Linked DNA regions of Homo sapiens: all the other regions are linked to region 3. The links are contacts of gene promoters, found by promoter capture Hi-C in blood cells and fetal thymus (Javierre and others, 2016). All regions are on one chromosome and are shown on one strand. Each heading gives the region's core, a stretch centred on a gene start or on the middle of the fragment in contact. The rest is flanking DNA. Distances are from core to core; before and after follow the strand shown. Region 1 overlaps TICRR (TOPBP1 interacting checkpoint and replication regulator). Region 2 overlaps TICRR (TOPBP1 interacting checkpoint and replication regulator). Region 3 holds the start of FANCI (FA complementation group I).

What was found. Contacts are between HindIII fragments. The CHiCAGO score rates a contact against its expected background, and 5 or more counts as called.
Region 1: a fragment that was not itself captured here is called in contact with the fragment with the promoter of FANCI in region 3 in 1 of 17 cell types (erythroblasts); the score reaches 6.7 in erythroblasts.
Region 2: a fragment that was not itself captured here is called in contact with the fragment with the promoter of FANCI in region 3 in 1 of 17 cell types (erythroblasts); the score reaches 6.4 in erythroblasts.

The regions. Positions count from the first base shown.
Region 1 is chr15:89,596,230-89,600,783 of GRCh38, reverse strand. TICRR (TOPBP1 interacting checkpoint and replication regulator) reads right to left here. Exons shown (of 22, transcript NM_152259.4): 8 at 1,309-1,460; 9 at 99-199. Among named protein-coding and RNA genes, the nearest start is that of TICRR, 23 kb to the right of the region's middle. The HindIII fragment of the contact is 8,455 bases long and covers 1-4,554 here.
Region 2 is chr15:89,616,288-89,620,764 of GRCh38, reverse strand. TICRR (TOPBP1 interacting checkpoint and replication regulator) reads right to left here. Exons shown (of 22, transcript NM_152259.4): 16 at 4,270-4,360; 17 at 2,555-2,613; 18 at 923-1,057. It also overlaps a transcript of KIF7 not described here. Among named protein-coding and RNA genes, the nearest start is that of KIF7, 37 kb to the left of the region's middle. The HindIII fragment of the contact is 4,200 bases long and covers 1,104-4,477 here.
Region 3 is chr15:89,241,948-89,246,885 of GRCh38, reverse strand. It overlaps FANCI (FA complementation group I), which reads right to left and starts at 2,907. Exons shown (of 38, transcript NM_001113378.2): 1 at 2,853-2,907. RefSeq lists an enhancer at 2,325-2,704. The HindIII fragment of the contact is 10,185 bases long and covers 219-4,938 here.

The DNA.
Region 1 (4,554 bases), core at 1,203-3,702, 350 kb before region 3:
CATGAGCCACCATGTCACGAACAATCTATTTTAAACTGATACGAGCTAATCTCACAGCTTTTAGAGTGATGATTTTTTAAAAAATGGTAGTTACTTACTCTCTAACTTTGTCTTCCTTATCCAGTTTTTTTCCTAGATTCTGTCGAAGACTTTTACTAGTTTTTAAGAGACTACTTTTTACTTGATTCAGGCAGTTCACCTAAAAATACAAAATTATTACATAGGAGAATAGTGTTACTTGTCATTATTTCTAATTTCTTTCACAGTTGACTAAAGGGAAATATATTCCCTTATAAACTTCTCTATTCTTTCATTTGAATGAAAAAGTGACGTGAATATTCTTCTTTTATATCTTTAAAAAGAACATGGTAAAAGTTATTTTGAGAGCTAGTGGGCATGGATAAAACAAGCCTGCCCTAAATAAAGTGTCTTAAAAGAAACGTTCCATAAAGCAGTGCTTAAGAAACCTAAGTATCATAAACAAATCCTCCTGTTTGCTTTAGAGAAGGAGCTCCGTGATGGCCACTGAACATGAATAAAACAACAACACGGTCTAAAACAGTGGTTTGCAACACTCCCAGTGCAAAAGGATTATCCAGGGGGCTTTTTAAAAGCGCCAACCCCAGAGATCTGTTTCAGTTCATCTGGAGAGAGCAAGGCATATATATATATTCTTTGGAGATGGAGTCTCGCTCCGTTGCCCAGGCTGAAGTGCAATGGTACGATCTTGCCTCACTGCAACCTCCACCTCCCAGGTTAAAACGATTCTCCTGCCTCAGCCTCCCGAGTAGCTGGGATTACAGGCACCTACCACCACATCCAGCTGATTTTTGTATTTTTAGTAGAGACGGGGTTTCACCATGTTGGCCAGGCTGGTCTCAAACTCCTGACCTCGTGATCCACCCACCCTGGCCTCCCAAAGTGCTGGTATTACAGGCGTGAGCCACCACGGTTAGTTGGCATATATATATTTTTTAAATGCTGTAAGTGATTCTAAAGTATAGCCAGGGTTAAAAACCACTGGCTTAATCATGCAGCTAACATATAGCTCACATGAGGAAAGGCTTTTCATTAGGAGAGAATTATATGTAATTATCCCCGCTCACCCCATCTCTTTGATTTCTGCCTTACCAGTTCACCATATCCACCTTCTGAGATCTGGAACTGTACTTACTCCCTTACTTATCTTACCATTTTTGAATCACATATGACATAACAGACATTTTCCAAGACACTAACCAAATCCACCACCAACCAACCAACCAACCACTACATCCATGACAAACAACAATATCTGGACCCTCTTACTTCTAATTCCTTGGTGCCTTTTGATTTTAGGAACATTTTAACGGTTGAGATCATGTTTCGAGCACATGCATACAACATGATTTCTCCTGTGGCCACAGTCTTTTGGTAATTTTCACGTATATATGATAGCAGCTCTTCCTCAGTTTTAAAATCTGAGAAAAAAATAAAATAAAATGGATTAATCATATCTTGCTCAAGTCCTTGTATTACTTAGGCCAGTTGTTGTCCACTGGGGAAAATATTTCCTTGCAGGGAACATTTGGCCTTGTCTGGATTGTCATGACTGATGGTGGTGGGGGCGGGGGTGGCTGCTGGCCATCTAGTATGTAGGAGCCAGGGATGCTGTTAAACATCCTACAATACATAGGACAGCCCTACAACGAAGAATTATCTGGTCTAAAATGTCAATAGTCCAGAGACTGAGAAACTACAGAGATAAGTGATTAATTTTATTTCATTTTATTTGAGACAAGGTCTTACTCTGACAATCAGGCTGGAGTGCAGTGGCACAATCTCGGCTCACCACAACCTCCACCTCCCAGGCAGGCTCAAGTGATCTTCCCACCTCAGCCTCTGGAGTAGCTGGGACCACAAGCATGTGCCACCACACCTAGCTTATTTTCTGTATTTTTGGTAAAGACAGGGTTTCACCATGTTGCCCAGGCTGGTCTTGAACTCCTGAACTCAAGCCATCTATCCGCCCTGGCCTCCCAAAGTGCTAGGATTACTGGCATGAGCCACCATGCCCAGCCAAGTGATTAATTTTAAGGCTCTGTATACCAAGTTTAAGTGTTAAAAATTTAAAGGTAGGAGGCCAGGCGTGGTGGCTCACGTCTGTAATCCTAACAGTTTGGGAGGCCGAGGTGGGTGGATCACCTGAGGTCAGGAGTTCAAGACCAGCCTGGCCAACATGGTGAAACCTCTTCTCTACTAAAAATACCAAAAATTACCCGGGCGTAGTGGCGGGCGCCTCTAATCCCAGCTACTCAGGAGGCTGAGACAGGAGAATCACTTGAACCTGGGAGGCGGAGGTTGCAGTGAGCCAAGACCGCACCATTGCACTCCAGTCTGGGCAATAAGAGTGAAACTCCGTCTCAAAACAAACAAACAAACAATTTAAAGGTAGGAAGAAATAAAACTGTCTTTGGTGATATGACATGATTAGAAAATCTGAAAGAACAAACAACAAAACTCCTGGAACTGGGCCGGGTGTGGTGGCTCACGCCTGTAATCCCAGCACTTTGGGAGGCTGAGGTGGGCAGATCACGAGGTCAGGAGATCGAGACCATCCTGGCTAACACGGTGAAACCCCATCTCTACTAAAAAAAACAAACAAACAAACAAACAAAAAACTCCTGGAACTAACAAGTGATTATAGCAAATTTGCAGGATACAAGATTAATACATAAAAGTCCATTGCTTTCCCATATGCCAGTAATGTACAAGCAAAATTTAAAATTAAAAACACATTACCATTTAAATTAGCACCCCCCCTAAATATGAAATACCCAGGTATTAAATCTAACAAAATTTGTATAAGATCTATATGCGGAAAACTACAAAATTCTGTGAACAAAATCAAAGAACTAAATAAGTGGAGAGATATTCCATGTTCACAGCAAGAAAGACTCAATACTGTCAAGATTTCAGATTCCCAATTTGATCTATAGATTCTATGTGATCCCTATCAAATAAGTTATTTTCTGCATATTGACAAACTGATTCTAAAGTTTATATGAAGAGGCGAAAGACCCAGAATAACTAACTCAATATTGAATGAGAAAAACAAAGTTTGAGGACTGATAGTACCAACCTTCAGGACTTACTATAAAGCTACAGTAATCAAGACAGTTTGTGTGATATTAGCAAAAGAATAGAGAGATCAATGTAACAGGAGAGCCTGGAAATAGACCTACATAAATATAGTAAACGGATTTTTTTTTTTTTTTTTGAGACAGAGTCTTGCTCCGTCACCCAGGCTGGAGTGCAGGGGCGCAATCTCGGCTCACTGCAACCTCTGTCTCCCGGGATCAAGCGATTCTCATGACTCAGTAACCCCAAGTAGCTGGGACTACAGGCGCCTGCCACCACGCCTGGCTAATTTTTGTATTTTTAGTAGAGACAGGGTTTCACCATGCTGGCCAGGCTGATCTCGAACTACTGACCTCGGGTGATCTGCCCGCCTCAGCCTCCCAAAGTGCTAGGATTACAGGCATGAGTCACTGCACCTGGCCTCCACTGATCTTTGACAAAGGAGCAAAGACAATACAATAGTGGAAGACTAATACAATCATCTTAGCAATAGATAAAAGCAGCAGAAAAAAATTACTAAAAATGTTGAATATTCAAACATTAATAAACTTGATGTACAGACACGTATAAAACCAGATATTCAACAATTAGAGAATACCCATTATTTTCAAGTGCACATTAGGTCAGTTTCAGCAAATATTAAAGAATCAATCTTACAGACCACATTGAGCACAGTTCAAAAATATTAAAAGCTAATTATAAAACACTCCCTTATATTATGGATGTCAGAAAATATTTATAAATAAGTATCAATGAAAATAGAAAACAGTAAATACATAATGCAGTTAGTTATACTTAAAGAGAAAATGTACAGACTTTAGACAAGTGATTATTTTTGTAAAGCAGACAAATTAAAAACTATTAACTATCTAAGGGTCCAACACGTGAAGTAATATGAGAGAGTAAACCCCAAAAATAAAGGTAGGAAGGTAATCATAAAGAACAGAAATGAATTGAAAACAAAGCAACAACAGCAATCAACAGAAACAAAAGACGGTTCTTTGAAAAGCCAAATAAGGCCAGGCGCGGTGGCTCACACTTGTAATCCCAGCACTTTAGGAGGCCGAAGCAGGCTGATCACCTGAGGTTAGGAGTTCGAAACCAGCCTGACCAATATGATAAAACCCTGTCTCTACTAAAAATACAAAAATTAGCCGGGTGTGGTGGCATGCGCCTGTAATCCCAGCTACTCGGGAGGCTGAGACAGGAGAATCGCTTGAACCCGGGAGGCAGAGGTTGCAGTGAGCCAAGATCATGCCAGTGCACTCCAGCCTGGGCAAAAAGAGCAAAACTCAGTCTCAAAAAACAACAAAAAAAGAAAAGAGGAATAAAACAGAAAACTCTATAGCAAGATTGAGCAATTAAAGAGAGAGAGATGGAAGGCATAAATATTAAAAATAGCAGGAATACAAAATACTATTAAAAGTAAGGTCT
Region 2 (4,477 bases), core at 1,954-4,453, 370 kb before region 3:
GGCAACAGAGTGAGACTCCATCTCAAAAAACAAACAAACAAACAAACAAAACATAAGAAAAACCCAGCCAGTTCATAAAAGAAAGAAGGCAACAATTTTTGAGAGCAACTCGGGAAAATCCCACCTATTTATGTCAGCAACTACAACAACTGCTGCCTTTTTTAATTTTAGTAAGACGGCATATTAACCCCAGCTCCTATGTTAGAAAATGTAGACAACTGAACTACTTTAATTTGTAAATATAAAAACACATATCTGGCTGGGTGTGGTGGCTCACACTTGTAATCCCAGCACTTTGGGAGGCCGAGGCAGATGGATCACTTGAGCCCAGCAGTTCAAGACCAGCCTGGGCAACATGGTGAAACCCAGTCTTTACTAAAAACAAAAAATCAGCTGGGCGTGGTGGTGCATGCCTGTAGTCCCACCTCCCTGGGAGGCTAAGGTGGGAGGATCACCTGAGCCTGGGAGGTTGAGGCTACAGTGAGCTGTGTTCGTGCCACTGCACTCCAGCCTGGGTGACAGAGTGAGACCTTGTCTCAAAAAAAGATAAAATAAGAAACACAAATCTATTAGCAAGCTAACCATGGATAGAAGAATGAAGAACGTAAACACAGATATCACCTTCCACCTAAGATAATGATGTGTAGGTTCTGTCCTTATGGGAAATTATGGGTAGCTTCCTCTTGAATGAATGAGCTACCTATAATGATAGCATGGATGACCAGTTGTAGGAGTCCTAGGGATGACTGATTACAAAGTCATGGACTGTCCATCTAGCCATCACCCTGAACCTCAACTAGACATACCTATTCTACTTCTCCAATGTCAAGAAAGAAAATGTCAAATTTCTTGCTTCTTTTCCCAAAAACACTTCTCACCAAGTCAGCACGGACTTGTGAAGGCAGAGGGGCCCGTATGTTACCTGACTTATCTTGCTGGAAAGAGTGGACTCTTTGCACACTTCGAGACTTCGGCTGAGACACAGAATAGAAGGAGGCAGAATGTGTCCTGCTAAATGACAACTGCTTGATTCGAGGACTTCGTCTCAGACTTATTTCTGTAAAATCAGAACCACAGTAAGTAACCAAAGACAACTACAAGCTTGACATTTTCTCATGTTGTCCAAAACCGGGCAAAATTTACATAGTACCACATATAAGATGGAAATTCAGCAAGCTATTAGCTTTAAGAGACTTCTGAAGTGTCTCTTAACAAACTAAGAGGGGTTTGATACATGGTCCCAACAAGGTATTAAAAAAACACTGACCCACTAGACTATTACCTTCAGAAGTCTTATTTACTGCCACCTTAAGAATGGTGTAGCCAGCCTGACCAACAAGGTGAAACCCTGTCTCTACTAAAAATACAAAAATTAGCCAGGTATGGTGGTGGGTGCCTATAACCCCAGCTACTTGGGAGGCTGTGGCAGGAGAATCGCTTGAACCTGGGAGGTGGAGGTTGCAGTGAGCGGAGAGCATGCCAGTGCACTCCAGCCTGGGCGACAGAGCAAGAGTCTGTCTCACCAAAAAAAAAAAAAAAAAAAGAAGAATGGTGTAGGGCGAAAACAAGTATTTATGTTAGGTTTCGTATGTATATGTTACATGCATTTATATAGAAATAATAGCAGTAAGAGTATATGCTAAAATGTTAGAGTATTTCTGAGTTGTGGAATTACCAAGTGCTTTAAAATTTTTGGCTTCATGTTTCCTGTTTTTTCCACAATAAATGTGAATTACTTGAGCAACTTAGAAGTTAGTTTTTTAAAACCCCTCCTTCATCATGTATACTTTTATTATTTTATTTTTTAGAGACATGGTCTTGCTCTGTCGCTAGGCTGGAGTGCAGAGGCACGATCATAGCTCACTGCAGCCTTGAACTCCAGAGCTCAAGAGATCCTCTCACCTCAGCCTCCCGAGTAGCTGGGACCATAGGAGTATGCCAACATGACCAGCTGATTTTTTAAATTTTTTATAGACACAGCACCTCACTGTGTTGCCTAAGATGGTGTCAAACTCCTGGCCAGTGATCCTCCCCACTTGGCTTCCCAAAGTGCTGGGATTACAGGCGTGAACCACCACACCTGCTGCTCACCCTCATTCAACATGTGCTTACTGATCACCTGCTATGTGCCAGGCACTGTGTGTTGGGGGCACGGAATACACAGATACATAAGGGGCAGCAGCAAAGATAATGTCTCAGAAAAGACACTCCCCAATAAAAAATTTCCCTGCCTTCTTGAAAAAATATGTAGTGAAAAGCTCCAACAAAGTTATATATACTTTTAAAATAAGTCATAGCACTTTGTATAACACAGTTTAGCCCTCATCCTGAATTTCATATCTGTTGTGCAAAAATATTTCTTTTCCAGAATTCTCTCAGTACCTTCTATGCAGAAGAACATTCACTTATAAATATTTACTGAGCTGCATTGTGGACTCAGAGCCATCACAATTTCTGTAAAATATCTTAGGATATGCCAAGTAACAATACATACAGAAAGGTTTTCATAGAAGCTGGGTAGATTGCATTAAAAACAAAAAGAGATAACACTCACCATCTCCTTTTTCAGGGGACTCTTCAACAACACCAATATCAGGACCAGGATCAGAGGACCTCGAGGAACCACATGCACAAGGATTACTCCATACCACTTGTAATTAACACTTATTAAGGAGACAGGCAGCTTCTCACTTAACAAGATCACAAAGATCACAGGGTCTGATAACACCAGTGCTGGTAAAGGGCTCTCATACGTGATTATTGTCAAGAGGGAGGCTGGCCACAGTGTCTCACGCCTGTAATCCCAGCACCTTAGGAGGCTAAGGCGGGCGGATCACTTGAGGTCAGGAGTTCGAGACCAGTCTGGCCAATATGGTGAAACCCCGACTCTATTAAAAATACAAAAATTAGCTGGGCGTGGTGGCATGCGCCTGTAGTCCCAGCTACTTGGGAGGCTGAGGCAAGAGAATCGCTTGAACCCGGGAGGCAGACGTTGCAGTGAGCCAGGATCGCGCCACTGCACTCCAGCCTGGCGACAGAGCTAGACTCTGTCTCAAAAAAAAAAAAAAAAAAAAAGATAGCTGGGTGCAGTGGCACACACCTGTAGTTCAGCTACTCTGGAGGCTGAGGTAGGAGAATCACTTGAACCTGGGAGGCAGAGGTTGCAGTGAGCTGGGATTGTGCCACTGCACTCCAGCCTGAGTGACAGAGTGAGATTCCTACTCAGAAAAAGAGTGAGATGGTTAGAATGTGGTTTTGTTTTGCTTTTATTTTTTGGAAAGCAATTTTACAACATCAGAATTATAAACCCCATTAATATATTAAAAAATTATACCAAACTATCAGACTATCACAGTAATGAGCAGCAACATTCAAGTTTCTGTTTAAGAGCCTTAATTTCTGCCAATGTGTCAAGGATGTTATAAAAAATTTAATTAAAAATATATATGCCTCTGACCCACCAATTTCACTTTTCGCAATTTAACCTATAAACTTCACAAGTGTGTAAAATCCATATACGAATAATGTCGAGATGGGTTTCTGACAAAATAGAAGGAGGTGTGCTTCTATTACCCTTGAAATCAAGCTAAAAACCCATGACATTATCTATACAATGAGCAGGAGACAATTCTGAAAGGCAGAGAGAAGAAGGCAGCCTGGCTGGGGACTTTGGGACCTGAGGAGGGCAGTGAGCTAGCTCCCTGGGTTTTCTGTTTGCTGCCTACACCCCTAGACTGGGTGCCAGAAAAGCTGACAACCCAGGTATACCAGGAGCAAACTACAGATGCCCCAAGGAAGGAGAGCTCTCAAGCCAAAGAACTAGGAAAGGGTCAGCCAAGCAAGACAGAAAACTTTCAGACAATAACAGCCCTACTCCAACCAATCGCTGCAGAAAAAACTGCAGCCCCACCCACACCTCTGTCAGCAAAGGCTGAGTTGGGATCCCAGACTTCCACCTTCTCTATGTTCACAGATGAATGGATTTAAAAACCGTGGAGTATCTATTCCATGGAATACTTCTCAGCAATAAAACAGGATGAACTATTGCATGCAACAACATGGATGAATCTCAAAATAATTGAGGCCAGACAAGTGTATATTTTATATGGTTCTCCTGCTCCCATGGAGAGCTTATAGAATGCTCTTTGGTTTTAAGCAACATAGTTAAGATTTAAGTCATGAAGGTCAAGAGAAGCGAAGTAGTGGCCCACAAGGCCGCTTTGAGGTGGTGTGGGTGTATGAAGAAGCCCGGATGGGGATGTCACTCACCTGCCCTTGATTTGTCTGTGCAGCAGCCTTTTGGAGATCTGCTTATGCACTGGAGTCTCGGCCACACTCTTAGTCAGCAGTTTGTGATAACCTAAAATGTAAACACAGCTTAAATCATAAATTTCATTTAACCTCATCAAGAAGCAGCAGTAAGGCCAAGGGAGCAGTTTGAACTTCTGTATGGCTTATTACCTAGCTGGAGAGGATC
Region 3 (4,938 bases), core at 1,658-4,157:
GCTGAGGCAGGAGAATGGCGTGAACCCGGGAGGAGGAGCTTGCAGTGAGCGGAGATCACGCCACTGCACTCCAGCCTGGGCGACAGAGCGAGGCTCTGTCTCAAAAAAAAAAAAAAAAAAAAGAAAGGAAGAAAGAAAGAAAGAAAAGCTGAGAAGTTAACAAGGTAAAAGATGTAACTGTGTTCTTAAATGTCAAGGTTTCGCAGCAGAGGAAAGCTTGAACTGGAACTTAGAGATTAAATATAGGTAGTCCAGACAACCAGGTTGTATACATTATGGAGAAGGGTATCATGAACAAAGGCATTCATACGGGAAATGAGAAATTTCTTTGGGGGAAAATGAGTAAAATGGCTGAGGTAGAATCCAAGTAGGAAAATAGTGAGTAGGAAGTCTGGAAAGATAGGCTGGAAGTAAACAGGTTAAGGAATTTAGATTCTATTTCGTAAATTACTGAGAACCATTAAAAAATTTGAGCAAAAGACAATCTCACAAGATTGCAAGTGTTTGAGGAAACAGAACCTAGCATCTTTGTGCAGATTAAAGTGGGGAGAAGGTAAGAAGAAACAGCAAATGCTAAGAGACCATTTGGAAGTTATTTTAGTGGAAATGATAAAGACCTGTACTAGGGTGGTGACTGGAGAACAGAAAAGATGGGATGAAATGGAGGCACATGAAGCAGATAGAATTCAGTGAGTAGCTATGAAAATAGAAGGGGGAAGTACAGCCTAGTAGAAAGAAAATCTGTTCCTCCTCTTCTTCCTCCTGTGTTTCCCGTCTCCATAAATGGTACCATCATCCACTCAGCTGCTCAGACCAGAAACCTAGGTAACATTCTTAACAACTTTGCCTTCATCCTTCACCACATCCATTACCAAGTCCTGTCAATGTTACCTACTAAATATCTCCCAAATCTGTCTACTTTTCTCCATCTCCACTACTGACACATTACCCCAAGCCACCACCATCTCTCACCTGAACTACTGCAATCGTTTCCTAACTTGTTCCCTTCTACGCAGCAACTAAAGTGATGTTTTTGAAACACAAACCTGATTATGTGACTTATCTTCCCTCCATGCCATCCTCATCTTAAAGCTCTTCAGTGGCTTCCATTGCTTTATCAGTCCAAAACCCTTAAGTAAGGATAAAATAAGTCCTGCAAGTTCTGACCCATGCCTACCTCCCTTTCATCACTCTGCTCCAGCCATGCAGAATTGCTTCCAGTCCTTCAAATCTCCAAGTTCTTTCTGCCACAGGCCCTTCCACATGTTTCCATCTGGAACTTAAATAAATATTCCTGCTTCCATCCACTGCCCCCCAATCTTTTATTACTAATTCCTACAAATCCTTCAGATCTTAGCTCAATCCACATCTCCTCAAAAGCTCAGTCTAGGCCAGGCGCAGTAGCTCACGCCTGTAATCTCAGCACTTTGGGAGGCCAAGGCGGGCGGATCACTAGGTCAAGACATCCAGACCTTCCTGGCCAAGATGGTGAAACCCCGTCTCTACTAAAAATACAAAAAAAAAAAAAAAAAAAAAAAAAAAAAAAAAAAATAGCTGGGCGTGACGGCACGCACCTGTAGTCCCAGCTACTTGTGAGGCTGAGGCAGGAGAATCACTTGAACTCAGGAGGCGGAGGTTGCAGTGAGCCGAGATCGCGCCACTGCACTCCAGCCTGGCAACAGAGGGAGACTCTGTCTCAAAAAAAAAAGAAAAGAAAAGAAAAGAAAAGCTCAGTATAGGTTGTTAAACGTTCCCCTAGTACATCCTCTCATGGCACCAGTAAACTCTCTTACATACTGTCACCAATTTTTAATATTACATGTGTAATTATCAGATTAACAAATGTTATCTCCCACTAGACTATAAGTCCCCTAAGGACACGGGCCGTAGCTGGTTTTGTTTATCATTGTATCTCCAGCACTTAGCACAGTACCTAGCTCAAACTAGGTAACAAATGTTTGTTGAACAAATTATTGAACCCCTATAATAGGGAAAACACTGAACCCAGCACTTTACATTCATTAACATGACTCCCACAACACCACCTACTAGGTAGGTGTAATATTAGCCCCATTTTAGATGAACAACTTTTGGGATTCAGAGATTAGGGAATTTCCCCCAAGATTAGAAGGCTACCAAGTGGCAGAGAGAGAAGTGAAACCCGAGTCTGTCCAGCTCCGGACTCCAAGATCCCATGCTTTGAACTACCGGATGCAAACAGGACACACCAACCTAAAAAGGTGTCCAGCCAGAAGGGGCAGGCGGCTTCGGAGGGGGATACGTTTAAATCAACCTAGGCACATTTGCTAAAATCATCCTAAAACCAGAGGTAAGACCAGAGGCGGGTGGCTGTGAATTCCCTGAACGCGAAGTAGATTCCTTGCCAAGAGACGCTGGGGAGCATCAGAGATCTGAAGCCAAGATCCGAGAATGGCAGAGCCCCGCCGGCGGGAAACGCCGCGGCCTTCCCTTCCGGGTTCTTCAGTTAACAAGCCGTGAGCGCAAATACAAAAACTATAACACGAAGCAGCTGGTGATGGAGACCGCGACCGGACAACAAATGCAAAGCAAGGTTAAGGGAAATTTCTCAGAAGTAAGAGCTCACCCTCGGCCAAGGGGGAAGAATTTAACAGAAGGGGCTCCGACTGAGGCACACCCCTAGGAGGGAACCGCGAAAGCTGAGGCAGGCGGCGGGAGACAGCGGAGCGCGCCTACTTTCCACGCCAGAGAAAATACCAGAACGCCAAGTCAGGACAGGAGCCTCCTTTCCCCCACAGAACCGCTCCCTCCCAGGGGCCCAGTCCCACAGCCCGAGCACCTCGCGAGCCGCTCTGCAGTCACCTCGGCCTCACCTCCGCCACAAACTTCCAAAAAGCCCGCTCAACCCAACGCCGCCACACTTCCGTTACCCGTAACAACAAGATCCGCCCCCGCGGCTCACTTCCGCCGTCCGGGTACCTGCGGGCGGGGTGTACCATGAAGACTGAAGGGGTGCCGGGAAGCGTGCGGGAGCGTCCCAGCTCACAGTCGGAGGGGGGCGCTGCCTGTCCGAACTCGCGCTAGGGACCGCCGATGAGCACGCGCGGTGGGACCTGAGCGTGCCCAGCGCGGTGTCCCGACAGGTTCAGCTTCCCTCCTGTCCTGTTGAGGGAGTAGTCAGTGCGGGAGGGGACTCACAATTGGTGGCCCCGCAGGTCTTGGCACTGGAAAAGCCTGGAAGGCAGAGGCGGATTTCATACTCCACCTTGTGCCAAGGGACGGTAACCCCTCAGATGTAAGCCCCCTGTGGCTAGGGGTCTTAATGGACTTTTGGGAGTTGTGGTTTTTGTTTGTTCTCTGTTTTGTTTTGTTTTGCGCTCCCCTTGCGTAACCCCAGCGTTTATTGCATAGCCTGGCAAAAGCAGCGAATATTTGTTAAATGAACAACTGACAGTGGGGCGAAGACCGACAGAGGGTGGGCCGAGATTCTATTTTGGGTTGAGGGAGCACCTTGCGCAAAGGGTCTGAGAGCAACGAGCAAGCAACAGAGCCCCTGGCCAGTTCAGAAGGCGAAGGTGCTCGGTGGGAGTGGGAAGGCAGGGGTTTCTAACTCCTTTTCATATTGGGGGCAGTGGGGAACCGCTGAAGGGGAAGGACATGACTGTGTTCGCATTGTAGACTGCTGTCTCGGGCAGGTGAGGACCGCAGAAACTGTTGAAAAGAGATGAGCCAGGTGGGGCGGACCGAAGGCAGGACCCCCCTTAGAAGACTGTAAGTTGTCCCAAAGATAGGTGGTGGTGGCCCAACCTTGGCAATGGGGACAGAAAGGAGTGGACCGCATGTGAAAGAGATTAGGAGGTAGAGATTTAGGAAGCCCAAATATCCGGATTTGAGGGGGTGTGGGCGTTGTTGAGGAATGTTCAGGCTTGAGCGACTGGGGTTGGGGGGCGGGGAGTTAATCCTGCAGTTGACTAACACAGGGAGCACAGGAAAAGGATGATGGGGTGATGATGAGCCCTTCAGAGTTGGACGCACCAAATTTGAGGTGCCTGTGGGATGGCAAGTGAAGGAATGCTAAGATCAGGGAGCATTTCAGTCTGGAACCTGACTCGACTCCCAGCCCTCGGGGGTAGAACGGGTCTACATGGCCAGTTATTGAAGAAACAGAGCTATTGGAGGAGAATGGTTCCTCTCAGCTGTCTAGACCTGCTCCTTGCTTGTGACCCTTCAGCATTTTTTTCCTTCTACATTTCTGTCCCAATACTGAGCTGTGATGTTTAACTAAAACACGGCAGCTTGAGGTAGAAGATGATTCCTGAAAGGAATCCTTTACCTTGCCAAGGAAGTAGATGACTTTGCCTCATCTCCCCACAAAATCTCCCAGGCTGCTTCTGGGATTCAGCCATGAATCTGTGGGTCTGGGTAGCTAGAACAAGCTCATTAGCCTCTCCGAGCCTCCACTGGCGCATCCCAGACGTACTTACTGAATTGCCTGTGTGTCTACCCACTGGCATTGATGCCTCAGGGTTCTTGTCTCCTCTTGTTGCACGAATGCATCATCTGTGTTTTCCATTTGCATTAATAAGTGTTACATATGCAAAAGAAGAGAAGAACAGATTCATTCAGATTAACAACAACGGTTTTTCACCCTGGTGCAGGCTTCCTTAACTAAGGAGCAAATCTTATCCGTCTGGTTCACTGACTAGACACTATACACTGAGAAGCTAGTGATACACTGATTCTAGAAAATACATCCAGTTAAAAACAGGTTTACAGTAATGGAACTAAATGTTCTTCAGACCTTGTCAATAGTACTTGTTTATCTTAACAACATTATAGCTACTAATATTTACAGGAGTCCAGAGAAAAAGTACAAATGGAAGCCCCTTACCATTCCCAACTCAGTCCTACAGTGTGAGGTCTCAGGCTTCCTATGCCTGCATGTGGACACCCAGCCTG